2 separate regions of the Homo sapiens genome follow, and region 1 is linked to region 2. Evidence: promoter capture Hi-C in 16 types of primary human blood cells and fetal thymus (Javierre and others, 2016). All regions are on one chromosome and are shown on one strand. Each heading gives the region's core, a stretch centred on a gene start or on the middle of the fragment in contact. The rest is flanking DNA. Distances are from core to core; before and after follow the strand shown. Region 1 has its middle 19 kb from the start of ROPN1B. Region 2 holds the start of KLF15 (KLF transcription factor 15).

Region 1 (5,141 bases), core at 643-3,142, 370 kb before region 2:
GTTACCCCTGTACTCCAATACTGCTGGGGAACTCTGGGAGACAGCATAGAACACATCTCAGAGTTATCCCAATCGAAGGGTGAGGAAGCTCTTCATCCATCACTGGATAATCCCCACCTGTCGTTGACTGAGGGCTTCTTCCAGGTGAATTAATGTTCTGCCTTTCCAGCTTGCCTCAGCTTGCTTCTTTTGCTCCAGGAAAAAGGCTCTCGGCCAGGAAGTCATAGATGATCACAATAAGAAGCCACCTGCATCTGCTACACTGCCTTACAGATATTTTAATACAACAAAGTTTTAACATTTTTTAATCACTATTAATGTTTCTTTCTTTGGGTCACGCAGAAGTCTTCAGGGTCTGCAGGGCAATAAGTGACCATCATTGTGCTGTATTAAAATTCACAACTGACTCACAAACATGACACATTGTCCCCAACCATTTCTTCCTTGTGATGGGATCATTCCAAAGGGGGTCCCTTGATTCTTGCTGCCAACAGATCCTTGTCAGACCCATCCCACTGGCTTTCCTATCATAATCAGCAATATCTATACAGTCCTAGCATGACCCCAGTTAAACTGTCAAACGAAGGCCCTTGCAACGTATGGTTTGTATTTCTCCTTTAAAAAAAATTTCAGGAAGCAATAAAATCAGGATTTTATAAAGCAAAAACAGTGGGCTCTTTCTTTCCTAAATTAAGCTATTTTGATTAAAGTGAAGACTGCAGATATATAAGCTTCAGTGGGAAATGCAAAGATTATGGCCCAATTCCATTTTCTCTATGCTCCATGCCCTTCCTCTCCTTGATGCTATTCCATCAGGGACCTACCATCCCTAGTTAACCAACTACTTCCAGGATCACCAGGGCCCTGCAACAGAAGGAGCTGGACACCCCAATGTGGAAGGCTGGTTTTGAATTAGGTTAGAATAGGAATCTTAACCTGAAATCCTTGGAGAGGCTCCTGAGTGCCTCTGATAACATTATATATGTAACCATGTCTCCAAAATGTGCTCATTAGCATTTTTCTGAAGAAAAAATTATAAGGCTTTGAGCAATTTCTCAAAGTTGTATATTATCTCAAAAGGCCAAGAACCTTTGGGTTCAAAATAGCCCCAGAGAGCACTAAATGGCTTGAGGAAAGACAACAGCACAGTCTCTCAGATCTTTCCAAGCAGAACTGAGCTCACGCTCCCAACATGTGACTTCTTATCCACAGCCTCTTACTTTTTGAATCTTAGATCCTGGCCATAAATCGGTGTTTTTAGTTTAGATCTTCATATACTTTCAACTTTGGTCATTTCCTATAAACTGGAACATGGTCAAACCTGAACAGAGACTTTCACACTTCAGAGGTGAGCCAATTGGCAAAGTAATTGGTTCAATGTGCTGAATTATGAAAGACTGGATAGACAAGCAGAGTTGTGTATCCATGATACTAGAAGGACTAAACCTCCGGACCAAGCTCAAAGGGCTAGTCCTGGATAATCCCGAGCCTCGGACATTCAAGTAGCTGTCAGCCCCAATGCACCAAAGCAGTCCAAACAATAGTTGATTCATTGGTTTATTCAACAAATAATTCAGAAATTCCTACAAGTGCAAGGATTGTGCTAGGCACTGGGGATACTGCTCTGAACAAGGTGAAGTCCCTGCTTTTAGAGAGATTAAATTATACTTAGGAAGACAGACATTACATAACTAAACACAAGTTTATAATTGTGAGAAACGATGCTACTACGTAGAAGCATGGGGCACACAGCTAGTTTGCAGGGGCAGGATAGAGAAGCTTTCTTGAGGAAGTAATTTGAGAGCAAGTTCGGAAGCCACAGGCAACTCAGAAAGGTGTATTTGCAGCCCACACATCTTTGCCACGCTCCAGACTCAACTATACAGTAGCTAACTTGACATCTTTTCTTGGATGACGCCAAAGTACTCCCTAATTTAACAAATCCAAAAATGACTTTCCTGGTTTGCATTTTTTTCATAATAAAATGTTGGAGAGAAATGAGTTCATAAGCTTCCTTACTAAATGTGGACCTCTCCCACCATCTGCCAAGATACAAAACCCAGAAACCAGGGTCAACAAATACCTCCCCCTGCCTTACTTTCCAACTCTATCACCAAGTCCTCTCCATTTTATCTCCTATGCATCTCTCAAATATGTCCTCTTCACTTTCCCTCACCACCACCTCCCTTAGGTCCCCTCATCCCCTCCCAGCAACCAATATATTTCATCTGGACTTTCTATCAATCTGGTCCTCAAAGGGAACAGAAGACAATCTAGAGTTTTGAAGATAATTAAAAGTTTTACAGAATGGACAAGGAAAACAACAAGGGGGTTGAGGCACCCAGGGACTAGCAAACCGTTATCATCCCTAAGACTGAAGAGACAAAGAGAAGGACATGTTATTACAGTGTGAGAAGACTGGAGCTCCAGGGGCTCCCCTGATGATGCAGAGGGCCAGTGCATCAGCCAAATGGTGCTGAGATAGCAGGAATATCCCATTCTCTCCCTCTTCTATCGACTAAACAGAACCTGAAGCTGGAGGGCATGTCTGACTGATGTCGGTCCAAGGGGAGGACAGAGAATGGATGCAGGAGGAGAGAACTTGCTCACACCCATACTTGCCTTTCCCTCAAGCATCCTCTATGCTAGTGATCAGCAAACTTCTGTAAAGGCACAGATAGTAAATATCTTAGGCTTGGCCGGCTAGGTGGTCTCTATCACAAATACTCAACTTTGGCAGTTGTAGCACAGATAATGTGTAAACACATTAGTGTGACTGTGTTCCAATAAAACTTTATAACACTGAGATGATTTTCAGGTAACTTTTCACATCACAAAATATTATTCCTTTCACTTAAAAAAAACTACTTGAAAATGTGAAAATTGTTCTCAGGCTGTATCCAAGAATGGCAGACTGAATTTAGCCAGGGACTGTAGATTTCAGATTCCTGCTCTACACTACAGCCATGGATCTTTGTAAAACCCCAGTCAGTTCACTGTGCCCCCTGCTTGAACTTTTACATATTCCCAATGGCCTTAGGATAATAAGCCAAATCATGTAGCCTATGAGGACTGTATAGTCTGGCCCTACATACATTTCCATCCCCACTGTCTATACTTCAGCAGCAAGAGCCTCTCTGGGTTTCTCTTTCTCAGCATCATGCTGTCTCCACATCTTTAGAATACTCTGCTCTCCACTCTCTAGTTCATTTGCAGATCTCAGCTCACTGCAACATTATTTATAATAGCAAATAACAAAATGAAAAGTGGGGTGGGGGCATAACATTCCCAACACTAGGGAAATGAATCATGGAACACCAGGCAGCCATTTTATAACTGTAGATTAATGAGAAACAATGTTGATTAGATATTAAGAGAAAACACTCATGTTACAGTAATACCTATTATTTCATATTGTTGTAATACATTTATACATATATACGTAGGTGGAAAAAATCTTGAAGGGAATGCACCAAGCTGTTCAGAGTGATAACTCACGGGCAATGGGGTTATGGGTGGTCTTTTCCTTTTTTGCTTATCTATATTTTCTAAAATAAACATGTATTAAGAAAAGTCAACATGAATTTTTAAAAACCAACAACTAAAAAAAAACCCCTTAATTTCAGGTGAATATGTTAGAAAGTTATGAAGTTATGTGAGGGCTGGGGAAGGAAAGGAGAGGTTTTCACAGTTTGATCTAATTCAAAACTAAATCTGTGAAATACTCAAGTTTCCTAAAATCACTCAGGATAAGTGTGTGATATATTGGTGGACATATTTTAGTTCCTGGGCTTTGACATTAATTGTAACAGATTTTTAAAGGGTAGCTCTTTTCTCCATTAAAAAGAAACGAGGCTGGGCATCGTGGCTCACGCCTGTAATCCCAGCACTTTGGGAGGCCAAAGTGGGCAGATCACCTGAGGTCAGGAGTTCGAGACCAGACTGGCCAACATGGTGAAACCCCGTCTCTACTAAAAATACAAAAATTAGCCGCCTGTGGTGGAGCGCATCTGTAATCCCAGCTCCTCAGGAGGCTGAGGCAGGAGAATCCCGCTGGAAACCGGGAGGCGAAGGTTGCATTGAGCTGCGATGGCACCACAGCACTCCAGCCTGGGCGACAGTTGAAATGGAATCAACTGAGTTCTCCCTCTTCAACTTGATTTAAATCATCAACCCAAAACCCAATTCCTAAACCCCAAAACCAATGACTAAAATCCTCATTAAAATGAGTGCACATGCCAATACTAAGAATGTTGTGTCATTCTTCATCAAAAGTAATTACCTCAACACAAGAGGAGACAAGTACGCATGGAAGTAAACCCAAAATCCCAACTAACGAGCATCGTTCTGAGATCAGTGGCCACAGGGAATAATTCTGAAATTGGCATCACATCTACGCAAGATAACAACCTGGAGGTCTTATTTTTATAGAATATCAAGAACAAAATCATCCAAAAGGCACACGATGCCAAACTAAAAATAAAGAGCGAAAATCCAAAAAGTTGCGCGCAATTCCTTCTGAAACCTATCCGCCTCCTACTCCTGTCCCTTCCTCTGGCGCTGGCGGGTCCTCGTCCCGAACCCCCACCGCAAGCCCTGGAACGGCTTCTTAACCCTTTTCTCGGCGGCTCCGCCCCGGCCCCGCCCCAGCCATGCCTCGCCCCCGCCCCGTTTGCCGGCTATTGGCTTCTCCCATCCCCTACCAGAGGGTGACGAGACGGGAAGCCGGGAAGCCGGGAGGGATCTACTGTGCACGTCCAAGGCGCTGGGCCTAGAGCAGGAGAAAGGGTTTGGAGGTGCGTCGGAGACTATGAAGTGCGGCCTTCGGCGTGATCCTTTCCGGAAGCGGAAGCTCGGGGGGCGGGCCAAGAAGGTCCGGGAGCCCACGGCGGTTGTTTTTTCTGTGAGGCTTCACTTACCTCGGTCTGGGCTTCTCTGAGGCTGCGAGAGATGGTCATGTCCGGATCTCAACTGGGCCGGGTGAGGGCTGAGGACCTGAGGAGTCCACTGTGGGGATGGAGAGGGACAGGGGGGTTTTCGGGCCAGAAACTTGTAAAACTCTGCTCGAAAAAAGAGACCGTGCGGCGACATTTAAGTGCTGGGACAGAGGTGCAGGAAACACCTAATCTTACCTTCGTAAC
Region 2 (5,535 bases), core at 1,614-4,113:
AACTTACCCAGGAAGCTTCACGGAGCTCCAGGAAACTAAGGCAAGGTCTGTGCCCCAGGCCAGTTTTACTAGGAGGACATTTGGCTTTTTGGTTTAAATACTCAGCTAAGGATTTAAACCTGGAATATGTTTTAAAATGCACCTATTCACCAAATCAGGTGCTGGGAAGGAATGAAAGTGCTAGACACTGTGAAGGGCACAAGGCTGGGCAGAGCCCACACTCCACCCTGGGCCTCCCCCAACCCTTTCCCACCCTCCAAGCAGGGGCTCCATTTCTGAGTCTGCAAGTTGTCTGCCAGGTGACCTCAGGCAGGTGCACAGCCTTTCTGTGTCTGTCTCAGTCTGTGAGATGGGGGTGCTTCCAACAGTGCCTGGTTCCTCAGGTGTTGTGAGAATTCCGTGAGCTGACGCTCACTAAGCACCCCCCTCAGGATCTGGCACACCGGCAGCACTCAGCCAGTGCCAGCCATTGGTGTCAGCCTGCAGGCACGGCAAACGTTCGGCCTCTGCCCCTCTACTGTGATGTTAAGGAATCAGGGGCCTCCAGCCCTCCTGGGACCCAGAGCAGGCCTTAGAGCCCTCCCCTGAAACGTGATCACTAACTGGCCATCCCATGATATTAAGTAATTACTGTTAATATTTTTAATTGTGATGATCATATTGTGGTTAAAGGAGGCCTTACCTTTTAAACATATAAACAGATATTGACAGATAAAGTGATCTAAAAAGTACAGTAGGGGGGCTGGAAGGAAACACCCTCCAATGGCTTCCCAAGGACAGGTGGCCCTATCTCCTCGCAGCAGCCCAGCACCTGGGCCCTTGGGACTCTCTGCAGACCTCACCACCAACTGCCTCTCTTCTAGTCCAGGTGTGCTCACTTCACTTCAGCCTCAGCCCGGGGCCACTGCCCTGGCTCTTCCCCCAGCACTGCAGGTGGGAGCTGCTTAGTTAGATCTCGGCTCAGAAGTCACCCCTGTGGGGGCCTCCAGGCCCACTCTGTTACATCATCCTATATTATACTCTTCCCTGCAGTTTCTACTGTGGGAAACTATCTTGGTGATGTGTTTGTGAACTTTCCTCCCTGTCTACCTTCCCATCAGAATATCAGCTGTCCTGACTGTTCACTCCAAGGCCATATCCCAGAGTCTAAAACAGGACCGGGCAAAATTTGCTGAATGAGTGAATGGAAGGTGCGGGGGAGAGCGGGGGAGGTCGGAGAGTAGGAATGGGTGGCCCAGGTCAGCCAACAGGGTCTTAATGCTGGGCTGAACGTCCCAAGGGGGAAGCACCCAGGCACTGACAACCCAGAAAGGGCTCTGGGATGTCCCAGGGCACCGGCATTAAAGAGAGGACACTCTAGGGCTGGAGCTGGCTCGGCCCCTGAAACACAGCAGCACGTGGGGCGGCCAGAGGCGCAGGCTGCGTGCAGGGGGAGGGGACACGCTGTTCCGGGCACAGTCCCCGGCTGGCCGCCGGACTCCGCCCCCTCCCCTGGCCCGGCCAGGCCTGCTGTTTATCCTCCCGGGGACACAGCGGCTGCAGGAACAACATGTAATTGATAACAAGCCCAGCGCCGGCCAAGGGCTTGCCATTGGGTCAGCGTGCAAATCACGGGGGTGGCGGCGGGGGCTGTCCTTCAAAATAAGAGTCTCCGGTCCCTGAGCCGCCCGCAGGCCCCAAAGTCGCAGAGTCCGGGCGTCCTCACACCTGTAGGGCGGCAGGGTCTCCCCAGGGGCCACCTGGTCCGGGGGGACAGGGGGAAGGAGATTTGAGGCTCTCAAACAATTGTTGATTTTGTCACCTCCGAGGGCCGTGGGAGAAAACAGCCCCTCTGTGCCCTCCGTGAGAGGGGGGTTCCATGAGTAACACCAAGGCGGGGAGGGAAGAGTGAACCGGACCACCATATGGGATGGGGACGGCCTCTCTGCCCCGCCGCCGCCATCCCTCGGTCAGGCCATGGCTTTGGTAATGTTCGGTCTGAGCGGACGGGGACTCAGCGTGGAGTGAGACGCGTGAACGGTGCGGGTGTGCGTGAAGGGGTGTGAGTTCCTGTCGTGTGACTGCGTGTGCGGGGCGTGGTGCGCGGCAGCCGCTGTGGCTGTGCGGGAGGCTGTCCGCGAAGGACTCGCGCGTGGAGCCGCCGTGGGTGCCGGCGGGTGAGGGGAAACGTGCGTGGGAAATGAAGAGAGCCGGCTCAGACCCCTTCTAGAGTCCTGGACCGCTGCCCGCTGGGCACCATGCCCTCGTCCCACGCCCCCCCCTTGCCCCCGACACTGCTGCGGTGACCGACAGTAACCCCTCCGTCTCCAGCCCCTCCGCCCCCCAACCCCGGGCTGGCCAGCGCGTCCGCTCTCCCCCTCCTCTCACCAGGCCGCGCCGGTGCCCACCATATGGGAGGGCCGGCCCGCAAGGCGCGCCACGGAATCGCCCGGCCAGGCACCGAGGCGGCGGCGCGGGCCTCAGCAAAGTGCTGGTGGGCGACCGGGGCGGGGGGGGTCACCTCCCCCGGGCCAGTCCGACCCCTGCCCACCTCCGCGGGGGCCCATCCCGCTCCTCCGACATTCCTCCAGCACTCGCGCGGTGCCTCCGAGAGCTGCGCGGGAGCACGGCCACGCGCCCCGAGGCCGGCCAGCCCTCTGATCACCCGGGGCCGCGTCCACGCGGCCGGCCGGCCCCGCCGCGCCTCTCCCACCTGAACTTGGCGCACGCCGGACCGGCGGCCAGGCCCCGGCGGTCCTGCGGCCGGGCGGGCTGGGCTGGGGGCGGCGGCTAGACTCTCGGTCCGGCGGCGGCCGGGGGCCGAGCCGCGGGTCCTGCGCTGGCTCGATCGCCCGCCGGCCCGCGGGTCGCTGCGGCGGAGCACTAGCCCGCCCGCAGCTCGCTGGGCACTCACTCCCCGCCGCTCACGTGACGCAGCGGGCGCCGCGAAGGCTCGCAGGAGGCTCGGCCCCGGGCGCGCGCCCCATTGGCCCGCGCTGCGCGTCACACGTCCCGCCCCGCCCTGGCCCCGCCCTGGCCCCGCCCCGGCCCGCCCGCGCGGCTCCCGGACTTGAGCGGCGGATGCTCGGGGATCCCGGAGCTGCCAGACGCGCACGCCCCCCAACACGCTGCCTGGTCCCTGGCCCGCAGCCACCTCCTTGCTTCCCACCTCTCGCCGCTGTCTCGCGGCGTCCACGAGGGCCGGCTTCTAAAGCTCGGTTCCCAAGGTGAGAACGTGAGACTGGCCTGAAGACTTAAGAAAAGCTCTGAGATCGCCCCAAAGTGCAGTCTGCGTGATTGAGCGGGAAGCGCTGGGGAGCCTGTCTGGCCCGGTCTGGCCCACGTCCCCACCTTCATCCCCAGCGCGGTACAAGCAGCTCTGTCCCCCGCTGAGTGTCAGATAAATCACTTGCCTAGAAGGACGTATTTTTGGATAAATACGGTATTGGGCTTTCAGCAGGACAATCAGTTACCCTCCGGAAATTGCGCGCGCTCTGCGCTGCCACCCTGCCCTCCAGGACTAAGGAGGTTTGCTGACCGGCCCCCCCCCCCCCCACCTGAAACCAATGACACCTTGTCTCTGGGGCACCTTTCTGAAGACCAAACAATGCTTCGCAGTCTACAAAAGCGTTCGTAGACTGCTTTAGTCCGCAGCAATCCTGGCTCGCATTTGGGTTCCCGCTTAGAGACAGGAAGAGTAAGGCTCAGAGTGGCTTGCCCAAGAAAAACACGTGGGCTGACGGTGCTAGGCACCCTGCTGTGCCCTTTAATCCACACTCCAGCTGGATCCTCAGCCAAGCACTTTACAGATGAAGAAACCGACTCAGAGAGGGCACCAGCCCTCCCCAGCCCCACAGCTGGGAAGGAGCAGGTAGAGAGGTAGAGCCAGGTCATCTTGCAGACACCCCCAGGCCACCTGTGCAGAGCTGTCCTACTGAGCTTCCTTCCTCTCCCCTCCTGGCACTGGGAGGTGGGGAGCATTTTCTCCTGCTTCTTCTTGAAGACATTGCTAGAACAGGAATTTTTAACCATACCCTTTCCAGGCTCTCTGGAATGCTATAGGTCTAGGCTTGCTTGACCAGGGATCTGGGGACACTGTGCACCAGGTCAGTGCCAGGGATTCAGCTGCTGCTGCCACTAGGAGCCAAACCAATGCGTTGCCAGAGGGCTTTAAGGACATTTGTGTTGAGGATGGTGAGAGGCTTTCTAGTTCACAGAAGTTGGAATGACCACTCTGGCATTACAGCAGCCCTGGCTAGCCTGGGCAGAACAGTGGAATTTGTCCATTTTCATAAGAGAAGAGATAGAGGCCTGTATTCCTCATTTTGTCTCAGTGCAGGTCTGGATTGGGCATAGCCACAGCACTTCTCCATCTGCCCTGCCCGCCCTCGGTCTTCACTCCTCACATACTCTCAGTCTAGTGCCTCCCATCTCCTTGGTGAAAGCTGCAGCAAAAGGTCAGAAAAAGCTTGGAAGCAAAGACACATCGTTAGCACCTTCAGCACACAGGGAGGAGGCCCCACTGGCTAGAAACTGGAGAACAGCCAAGATGGTCCTGTTAAAACCTGAGTCAGATCAGGTCCCTTCTGGGTTCAGAAGCTTCCAGCAGCTCCCAACTCACTCAGAGTAAGTAAAGCCCAAGTTTTCACCACAATCTTTAATGCCCTACAGCTAGGTACAGCATTTACCCCAAACCATATCTAAGGAGAAAAGCTCCCTCAATATAGTGGGGAGAATCTATCATTGAGATTCCTTGGCAGAAAGGAGAGAACAAAGTCAGGTGGTGCTCTTCAAAACAGATGACCAAAAACAGTAAAGATTTATCTTCATAGCAGTGAAAATCTCTAAGTTTCTTTTCTTCCAAAGCAATTCCTTCCCTACTTCTACATAATCAAGTATAGAAAAGGGCCTTGGAAGGATATAAATTATATTGGTTAAATATTGTATGACCTTGCCTATAAAACCATTTGGGCCTGGTGCCTTTTTGGAGTGATCTTTCTCCATGCTTGAATTTCACACATTTTACCAGGATATGTCTGACTCTAGCCTCCTTCTGTTTTCATTGTTACTACTCTATGCTTGGTGTATCCTTTTAATCTGGAAACTCAAGTCTTTCTTCGTTCAGGGAAACGTTCTTCTATTGTCTCTTGTTTCCCCCTAAACAGCTGCATGGATTGCTCCATCGCATACTCAGGTCTCTGCTCAGATGCCACCTTATCCCAGACACCTTCCTCACCCATCCCGTCTAAAACAGCACATCTGCTGCCCTCAGTTTCCTGGCCTCTGTTTATTTTGCTTCATGATCCTGATCTTTATATTATTTATTGATTTGTTTCTTGCCTGTCTCTCCTATCAGGAGACAAGCTCCTTAAGAGCATGGACTTGTATTTTTTTATTCACTGCTGTATCCCCAGAACCTAGAACACTTCTGAAACATGTTGAGGAAATGAGATTTTCTTCTTGCCCCAGTAAAGCTGCCAATGGATATGGGATCTTTGGAGAAGCTCTTCAAGGTCTGGTGCTCTCTTCCACAGTACTGTAGCCACCAATCTTGTC

The links. Contacts are between HindIII fragments. The CHiCAGO score rates a contact against its expected background, and 5 or more counts as called.
Region 1: a fragment that was not itself captured here is called in contact with the fragment with the promoter of KLF15 in region 2 in 1 of 17 cell types (total B cells); the score reaches 5.1 in total B cells.

Annotation. Positions count from the first base shown.
Region 1 is chr3:125,985,719-125,990,859 of GRCh38, forward strand. It overlaps the pseudogene ALG1L1P. Among named protein-coding and RNA genes, the nearest start is that of ROPN1B, 19 kb to the left of the region's middle. The HindIII fragment of the contact is 231 bases long and covers 1,778-2,008 here.
Region 2 is chr3:126,354,545-126,360,079 of GRCh38, forward strand. KLF15 (KLF transcription factor 15) reads right to left here and starts at 2,864. Exons shown (of 3, transcript NM_014079.4): 1 at 2,693-2,864. RefSeq lists enhancers at 1,406-2,165, 2,166-2,925 and a silencer at 2,824-3,043. The HindIII fragment of the contact is 4,432 bases long and covers 14-4,445 here.